Regions from separate parts of the Homo sapiens genome. Here regions 1 and 3 are each linked to region 2. The links are contacts of gene promoters, found by promoter capture Hi-C in blood cells and fetal thymus (Javierre and others, 2016). All regions are on one chromosome and are shown on one strand. Each heading gives the region's core, a stretch centred on a gene start or on the middle of the fragment in contact. The rest is flanking DNA. Distances are from core to core; before and after follow the strand shown. Region 1 overlaps WDTC1 (WD and tetratricopeptide repeats 1). Region 2 holds the start of GPR3 (G protein-coupled receptor 3). Region 3 overlaps WDTC1 (WD and tetratricopeptide repeats 1).

Region 1 (2,736 bases), core at 145-2,644, 85 kb before region 2:
ACGTGTGTCACCCCTTTCTCCACCACAGAGTGAAGACCTCACAGGCCGAGTCGTGGAAGATATGGAGGGTGCTTCACAGGCCAACCAGCGGCGCATGAATGCAGACCCGTTGGAGGTGATGCTGCTCAACATGGGCTACCGGATCACGGGCCTGAGCAGTGGGGGTGCCGGGGCCTCTGATGATGAGGACAGCTCTGAGGGCCAGGTGCAGTGCCGGCCCAGCTAGACCCTCCAGCCCTGGTCCCCAGCCCCTGCTACTGGCTGGACCCTCTGCCCTGGGCAGGAGGTCAGGGGATTCTGTTTTGGTTTGTCTTCCCCACCACCCTTTTTTTTCATTTCCCCTGTTTTGTTTGTTAGTTTGGCGTTAGGGGTGGAGGTTGCTACAACTTGCTGGCTTTCGGACTCTGGGCTGATTGTCCCCTGACTATCCCCAGCCCTGAAAAAAAGAGCAGGAGGGGACACCCCTCCATATGCCCCCCCCCATCTCCTGCTTTCATGTCCCTGGAGGGCTCTGGCCTGCCTCAAAACCCCTTCTGCCTCAGGTGGGGAGGAACAAGCTGAACTGTCTTCAGGGACTGTCCTGCCCTTTAGCTGGCAGCAGCAGGAGGAGTGGGATTCCCAATTGGTAAGGGCTCGCCTTGGCCTGTTGCCACTCTTGCTCCCTAGCCTGCAAGGCTAGCTCCCCTGTGGTCTTCAGGAAAGGTTTTGAAAAAGGATGGGTCCCACCCTCCCTCCAGAGCCACCAGTGTTAGAGCGGAGCCCAAAGGAAGGATGGGAGCCCTGGAGTGGGCAAGACCAGGCCACCTGCTGAGGTCGCTGTGGAGCACCCTCGCTCCTCTCCTGGCTACTAGCTCTGGCCCTGCACCTACTCTCACTGGCCACCTCTGGAGGCTCTGCCTTTCCCAAGGGCCCTGGCAGAGGGTGGGGCACTGCACCTTACCCCACCCATCCATGCCAGCACTTCTGCACTACGGCCATTCTCCTCTTGGGCGCTCCTCAGCCTCACTGTGACCTTTCTGCCAGAGCTCCCAGCCAGGCCTACTCTGCTGAGGTGGCGCTTCCTGCTAAGGGCCCTTCTCTGCCCTTTCTGCCCTCCTTCCCATCCCACATGCTGAGCCGCCACAAAGACCAAAGAAGTGATGGCTTTTCTCTGTCCCCTGCTGCTCTGAGGGGAGAGGGGTGGGTCTCCTGAGCCACTCAGATGGGAAAGTCCCTTACTCGGCCCCTCCCTCCCCAGCAGCCCCAAGCTTTACACTGGATGCAGCGATCAACCCACCACTCACCAGGCCTCTCCTCCCCTCTGCCCCCGGCTCTTAGCTCCAGCTGCTCCAGGTAGTTGGTTCATCCTTCCCCCTCTCTCCCTCCCTGCTTCCCCTTCAGTGCTTACTTGGCTCCAGCCCTCCAGCTGCAGCCCCTGGGGAAAAGCAGCCTCCCTTCTCCTCTCCCTCCACTCCCTCGCTCCCTCCCTCAGCCCCTGTCTCTGCCAGGTGCCTCCTCTCAGTCAGGCTTCAGAGCAGCCCTGGAGACAGGAGGGCCATGTTAAAAGCTTTTTCACAGTTTTAAGAAGACAAGTGGAGGGTGAGGATAGTGGTGGGGGGTCTGGCACCATCTCATTGCTTTAATCCCAGCAACACAGGTGGCAGCTTCTCCCCCTTCCTTCCCACCCCAGTCCCTCTTCCCACCCCTCTCTTCTAGCTTGGTAATGAAGTATATTTATTGGTGAAGGAAACAGCTGCTGCTGCTTCTCCTGCTGCTGGGACCTGCTCCCCTGTCTCTTCTCCGTGACCTTTCTCTAGCCAGGGAGAAGGGAGAGCAGGAGTATTGGGGCTGGGCCCTGGGGCCCAAGGACCAGCTGGGTCCCCTTTGCTTTCTTGTGTTCCAGCCACCTGCCATTTCCTCCCTGCCTCCCACCCTCCCTCCCTGCCCCCTGTCCTGCTTCCCACCCCCTGCCTGCCCAGCCTGGGCCCTGCAGTGTGGAGAGACACATAAGCCTTACTGTCCTCTGGGGGCAGGAGCCGAGCCTTTTTGTTGCTCCGCTCCCAGGAGAGTGAGGGTGACGCAATTGATTAAAACCATTTTGTTCTAGGTGTGGCTGGTGGCATTTGTGGGGTGCAGATGGGTCTTGGAACCAAAGTGAGGGCACCTGGTCCCTCACCTCTGTAGCTCTATGACTTAGTAACCACACCTCTACTGGACAGAATGAGGCCTGCCTTGAAGGGTCACCGTGAGCAGCGGCCACCCAGCCCAGCAGGGCTGAGTGCAGAGCCCAGCTCTCATGGCTGTGATTTGTAATCATCAGCTTTCACTCTCTGGCTGTTTTCTCATCAGTAAAATAAGGGACTTGGAATCTTAGTGGTTTTTCAAACCATTTTACATTGTGACCCAATATACACATGATTACTTGTAGATATGTGTGTGTGTATATATATATAAAAAAAATGAACAAAAGTTTTACACAATAATATTTACCCTTGCTACATGCAGTGTACTCTGCTTACCCTTCTGTTTTATTAGGGAAAAAAATATGGCTATAACCCACTAAATTGATTTCACATATGCAAGTTTTTGAAGTGCCCTGGATTAGATAATCTCTTAGACTATAGGTTCCTGAACTTTCTTAGCTCACAGCACCATTACCATCTCAGTAATTTTTTCATGGAGCCTCTAAGCCAAAAGAAATAACAGTTCAATTTATTAAGTAGTTAAGTCCAAATCACTTAAAAAGTATTTATGTCC
Region 2 (2,700 bases), core at 92-2,591:
TGGGGCCTGGGATCCTCAGGCCTCTTAACCTCATCTTCCCCTCCCACAGGCCTGCATGATTCCAGGGAGCATCAAGGCAAGAGACACAGGGAGAAGGAGCAGCCAGTCCCCCTGCCGCAGGACTGGCCACATCTGTCACATCTGGAGAAGTCTGCCCAGAGTGGTTCCCCTGGACTAAGGGCAGATGGCGTTGGGGAAGAGGGAGCTCTTTCTCCTTGCTCCACCCATCAGGATGCCTAAAATAGGAGGCTGAGAGGGGCCTGCCCTGAGGACTGAGCTGCCAGGCTTTCTGCTTCCAAGTTCTTCCCGGCTCCCCATCTCCTCCTGCTTCAGGGAAGTGCACCCCTCACCCCCTCCACGCTGGCTTTCTAGATACTGGAATAAATAATTCAGGTTTTGAAATCTTGCCAGGCCCACCCCTCCGGTGCTGTGAGGGCGCTATTGGGCTGACATGAGTGACGTCACCCAGCTCTTATCCCAGCCCCGGCATCACGGGACTTGCCCTGGCAGCAACTTACCTGCCTGGTCACTGTCAGTCCAGACCCTCTACCCTGTGCCCCTCACCCTGGAGCCCACTCACCACAGCCACCTGCTATCTTCGTTCCAGGGCCCCACAGTCCTCATGGCTTAGCATTGTCGCTTCAGTACCCCAGCCATTCTGACAGGGTAATGGTGACCTGAAGTCACCTGGACACTCCATGTTCCCAGGCCGCTGCCTCTGCCATCCCGGGGTCCCTGAACTCCCCCCTGCTGCATAGTCACCCTGACACTGCCATGGTTGCCCTGAGGGCTTCCCCTCTACCGTTAGCGTCCCACGGCCATCACCCCCCACCCCAAGATTCTGTCACCATGCTAATGTCGTCACTGCCACCCACCTCCCCGCTCCCTCGTGCTCCCTGTCATCGTCACCTCAGGGCCCCATCATCTTGGAAACCCTGTCATTCTCACCAGGGAAGCCCAACCAGCCCCATCACAAGCTCTTCCTTCGTCACCTGGATCTCGTCAGCCTCTCTGCCACCCAAGGGTCCCATCACCCCACAGCCTAGCCGGGCCCCCTTTCCACTCTTCCACCACGTTCCCTGCAGCCTCTCTGAGACTTCAAGGCTCTCGCACCGGCGCCTCTGAAACCCCCGGCCCGCAGAGGGCGCCGCGTCAAGGACAGCGCGGGCGGACTCGGGAGGGGGCGGGGCCGCAGCCACGGTCGCTTTTTATGAATGGGGGAGCGGGCGGTGCGAGGCCTTATTACTATGCCGCGCAACGCGCGCTGCGCCCCAGCGCGCCGCGCCCATTGGCTGATCGGACCGCTGACGTCACCGAACCGGTGGCCGGGGGCGGGGCGGGGTGACTCACGCCGCTTCTCCCGCGGCCGCGGGGGCTTCTCGGGGTCCACGCACGCCCTGCGCCGCCAGGACCCGAGCGGAGCCTCCCCGCGGCCCGGCCGCGCCTGGTCCTGAGCGGTGAGTAGCGGGCCCCGCCGCGGGCACCAGGGGTCCTGAAGGGCACGCAGGATGCTGGGGCACTGGGCCGGCGGAAGGCTCCTAGTGGCCGGCCGGGGTTCGAGTTCGAGGTGGGAATTCTGGGTTTAGGCGATTCTGGGTTAGCAGGCTTGGGCCCAAGTGCTCGAGTGCTGGGGTTGAGTTGGATGACCCGGCGAAGGGTAAGCATTCCTGCAGGGACCCGAGGCCCTGGAGGGACTGATGGTCATCTGAGGTTAAGCCGGCAGGAGGCGTCTGGGGCAGGGACCCAGGGGTCCGAACAGCAGGAGGTGTCCAATTTAGGAATCCAGGTATCCAGGCAGGAGGCAGAGTCAGGCCCAAAATCCAGGTGTCCGGGCAGAAGGAGGCATCTGACTCAGGGATCCAGTCTTCCAGCAGGGGGGTCTGCCCAGAGACCTAGAGATTCAGGCGGAAAGAAGGGTCCAGCCAGGAACAGAAGTCTGGGAGGGTGGGGGGTGGGGGGCTGAGTTCCCAGGTGTTACCGCGGGAGTGCGGGGTGATGGCTGGCGGGAGCTTCACGCGCATTCCCTGGGGGCGGAGTCTAAGGCTGGCAGTACTGAAAATCGTGAGGGGTCTGGGAGCCTCAGGCACGAGCTAGCATCATCATCTCTGATGGGAGGGAGCGGAGCTGCTCAGTCTCCCTGATGGGGTAGATGTTTCCCTACCCCAATCTTGAGCCTTCGGGGGCATCCCCTGGATCCTATGGCCCTCTTCCACTTATAGTACCCCTTCTTCTGTCTCTCCTCTGGTCACACACGTGGGAAAAAGAGACCTGCAGGACCTAGGACAGGGATCCCCAGGAAGAGACCCCTGTTTAGAGGCCTGGGGGCATTGGAGGGGACAGCGGTATCCTGGGAAGAGCCCCAGGGCATGAATGTGGGGATAAGGCATTGGGACCCTATCAGGTATCCTGAGGAGAGACTCCCACCACGTATCCTGAGAAGCACCTCACCCCCTCCAGACCCCAACTCCCATCACCCAGCTTGGTCAGCTTCTCACAAGGCCTTTCTCCTGCAGGTACCATGATGTGGGGTGCAGGCAGCCCTCTGGCCTGGCTCTCAGCTGGCTCAGGCAACGTGAATGTAAGCAGCGTGGGCCCAGCAGAGGGGCCCACAGGTCCAGCCGCACCACTGCCCTCGCCTAAGGCCTGGGATGTGGTGCTCTGCATCTCAGGCACCCTGGTGTCCTGCGAGAATGCGCTAGT
Region 3 (3,036 bases), core at 187-2,686, 100 kb before region 2:
GCGGCCCTCTGCAGTGTTTGTGTCCCTGGGTACTTGAGATTAGGGAGTGGTGATGACTCTTAATGAGCATGCTGCCTTCAAGCATCTGTTTAACAAAGCACATCTTGCACCGCCCTTAATCCATTTAACCCTGAGTGGACACAGCACATGTTTCAGAGAGCACAGGGTTGGGGGTAAGGTCACAGATCAACAGGATCCCAAGGCAGAAGAATTTTTCTTAGTACAGAACAAAATGAAAAGTCTCCCATGTCTACTTCTTTCTACACAGACACGGCAACCATCCGATTTCTCAATCTTTTCCCCACCTTTCCCCCCTTTCTATTCCACAAAACCGCCATTGTCATCCTGGCCCGTTCTCAATGAGCTGTTGGGTACACCTCCCAGACGGGGTGGTGGCCAGGCAGAGGGGCTCCTCACTTCCCAGTAGGGGTGGCCGGGCAGAGGCACCCCTCACCTCCCGGACGGGGCGGCTGGCCGGGCGGGGGGCTGACCCCCCCCCCACCTCCCTCCCGGACGGGGCGGCTGGCTGGGCGGGGGGCTGACCCCCCCACCTCCCTCCCGGACGGGGCGGCTGGCCGGGCAGGGGGCTGACCCCCCCACCTCCCTCCTGGACGGGGCGGCTGGCTGGGCAGAGGGGCTCCTCACTTCCCAGTAGGGGCGGCCGGGCAGAGGCGCCCCTCACCTCCCGGACGGGGCGGCTGGCCGGGCAGAGGGGCTCCTCACTTCCCAGACGGGGTGGTTGCCGGGCGGAGAGGCTCCTCACTTCTCAGACGGGGCGGCTGCCGGGCAGAGGGGCTCCTCAGTTCTCAGACGGGGTGGTTGCCAGGCAGAGGGTCTCCTCACTTCTCAGACGGGGCGGCTGGGCAGAGACGCTCTTCACCTCCCAGACGGGGTCGCGGCCGGGCAGAGGCGCTCCTCACATCTCAGACGATGGGCGGCCGGGCAGAGACGCTCCTCACTTCCTAGATGGGATGGCGGCCGGGCAGAGACGCTCCTCACTTTCCAGACTGGGCAGCCAGGCAGAGGGGCTCCTCACATCCCAGACGATGGGCGGCCAGGCAGAGACGCTCCTCACTTCCCAGACGGGATGGCGGCCAGGCAGAGGCTGCAATCTCGGCACTTTGGGAGGCCAAGGCAGGCGGCTGGGAGGTGGAGGTTGTAGCAAGCCGAGATCACGCCACTGCACTCCAGCCTGGGCACCATTGAGCACTGAGTGAACGAGACTCCGTCTGCAATCCCGGCACCTCGGGAGGCCGAGGCTGGCGGATCACTCGCGGTTAGGAGCTGGAGACCGGCCCGGCCAACACAGCGAAACCCCGTCTCCACCAAAAAAATACGAAAACCAGTCAGGCGTGGCGGCACGCGCCTGCAATCGCAGGCACTCGGCAGGCTGAGGCAGGAGAATCAGGCAGGGAGATTGCAGTGAGCCGAGATGGCAGCAGTACAGTCCAGCTTCGGCTCGGCATCAGAGAGAGACCGTGGAAAGAGAGGGAGAGGGAGACCGTGGAAAGAGAGGGAGAGGGAGACCGTGGGGAGAGGGAGAGGGAGACCGTGGGGAGGGGGAGGGGGAGAGGGAGAGGGAGCTAATTAATTTATTTTCTGAGACAGGGTCTCACTCCATTCTATTGCCGAGGTTGGAGTGCAGTGGCGTGATCATGGCTCACTGCAGCCTTGACTTCCTGGGCTCAGGCGATTCTCCCACCTCAGCCTCCTGAATACCTGGGACTACAGACACGCTCCACCATGCTTGGCTAATTTTTCTATTTTTTTTGTAGAGATGGGGTTTCTCTGTGTTGCCCAGGCAGGTCTCAAACTCCTGGGCTCAAGTGATCCTCCCACCTCGGCCTCCCACAGTGCTATGATTGCTGGTGTGAGCTACCACACCTGGCCTTATTTTATTTTTACTTATTGGTTTACTTTTTTGTCTGTATCCTCACTAAATAGTAAAAGTAAACTCTCTTAGAGCAACTCCATGTCTGTCTTGTTCTTGGTTGTATCCCTAGAGCCCAGCACAGCGCCTGGCACATAGAGCCGCTTGATACATTTCTCTTGAACAGTTGGTCAGTGGCTATATACCTGGGAGGGGGCAAGCCACCCGGAAATGGTAAAATGGACTGTCCCCTTTTCCAGTGCCCTGCATTGTTACACATTTGCCTCTACTTCCCTTCATTCTAAAATGGTGTCGTTGCCCTTCTTTAACTCCTTTCTTCAGCTGTGACCTTAGAACTTCTTTCTTATCTCCCCAGCCTGCTTTAATCTGTCTCCCTTGAGTTCCTGTAGGACTTTGTGCCCTCTTTCCTTTTACAGATGAGGAATATCTAAGTCATATATAAATTATAACATAGTCAAGAGCAAGGCAGTGAAGTCAGACAGACCTGGGGTCAAATCCTAGCAATCGCACTCAGTATTTGACTGGGGTAAGTCACTGCATCCCTGAACCTCAGAAGACAGAATGCACTTTGTCAGTGGCAGGTCCAACTCTGTGTAGCACTTTTTGACCTTGGCTGACCAGATTTTGCCAGGGCCAGCTGGTAGAAGCGGAGCGTCTAGCGCATTGGGTAGGATCCTAAGTGTTTAGGCATAGGCACAGTCAGAGAAGGTGTCCTAGCAGAAGGTGAACATAAGCTGGGCCTTCCAGAACAGACAGGATTTGGATGAGCAAGGAAAAGCAGAGTGTATTCCCCAGCTTGAGCAGAGTTTGCAAAGGCAGAAATAAACATGGCATGTGCAGGATAAAGAATTCTGTAGTTATAATTGACCCACATTTAGAAAACTGAGGAATAAGGTTGGAGAGAAATGTGAAATTGAGTCTTGAAAACCAGACTGAGGAGTTTGGTAAAAGTAAACTTGTGCTAAAAGTATTGAGGAATCTCTGCAATTTTTTTGAGCAGGAGAGTGATGTAAAATAATATTTTAGGAAGAGCAGCCTGGTGAAGATGGCTTAGAAAGACAAGGTGAACAGCAAAGAGGTGATAACAGATGTCTAGGCAAGAGGGGAGAGCATATAGGTGATGTCCCCCCTACCCACCACTCTCT

The links. The method cuts DNA at HindIII sites, captures the fragments that hold promoters and counts their contacts. A CHiCAGO score of 5 or more calls a contact.
Region 1: a fragment that was not itself captured here is called in contact with the fragment with the promoter of GPR3 in region 2 in 16 of 17 cell types (M1 macrophages, total CD8 T cells, M0 macrophages and 13 more); the score reaches 9.6 in M1 macrophages.
Region 3: a fragment that was not itself captured here is called in contact with the fragment with the promoter of GPR3 in region 2 in 11 of 17 cell types (M0 macrophages, M2 macrophages, total CD8 T cells and 8 more); the score reaches 7.6 in M0 macrophages.

What each region holds. Positions count from the first base shown.
Region 1 is chr1:27,306,158-27,308,893 of GRCh38, forward strand. It overlaps WDTC1 (WD and tetratricopeptide repeats 1), which reads left to right. Exons shown (of 16, transcript NM_001276252.2): 16 at 29-2,479. The coding sequence ends at 226. Among named protein-coding and RNA genes, the nearest start is that of TMEM222, 15 kb to the right of the region's middle. RefSeq lists enhancers at 1,099-1,624, 1,625-2,150, 2,151-2,675. The HindIII fragment of the contact is 299 bases long and covers 1,246-1,544 here.
Region 2 is chr1:27,391,281-27,393,980 of GRCh38, forward strand. It overlaps GPR3 (G protein-coupled receptor 3), which reads left to right and starts at 1,342. Exons shown (of 2, transcript NM_005281.4): 1 at 1,342-1,457; 2 at 2,514-2,700. The coding sequence starts at 2,519. RefSeq lists enhancers at 1-494, 495-1,031, 1,569-2,104 and a silencer at 1,046-1,545. The HindIII fragment of the contact is 9,449 bases long and covers 1-2,700 here.
Region 3 is chr1:27,288,494-27,291,529 of GRCh38, forward strand. All of the region lies in intron 6 of WDTC1 (WD and tetratricopeptide repeats 1), which reads left to right. Among named protein-coding and RNA genes, the nearest start is that of TMEM222, 32 kb to the right of the region's middle. RefSeq lists an enhancer at 747-1,732. The HindIII fragment of the contact is 3,699 bases long and covers 1-3,036 here.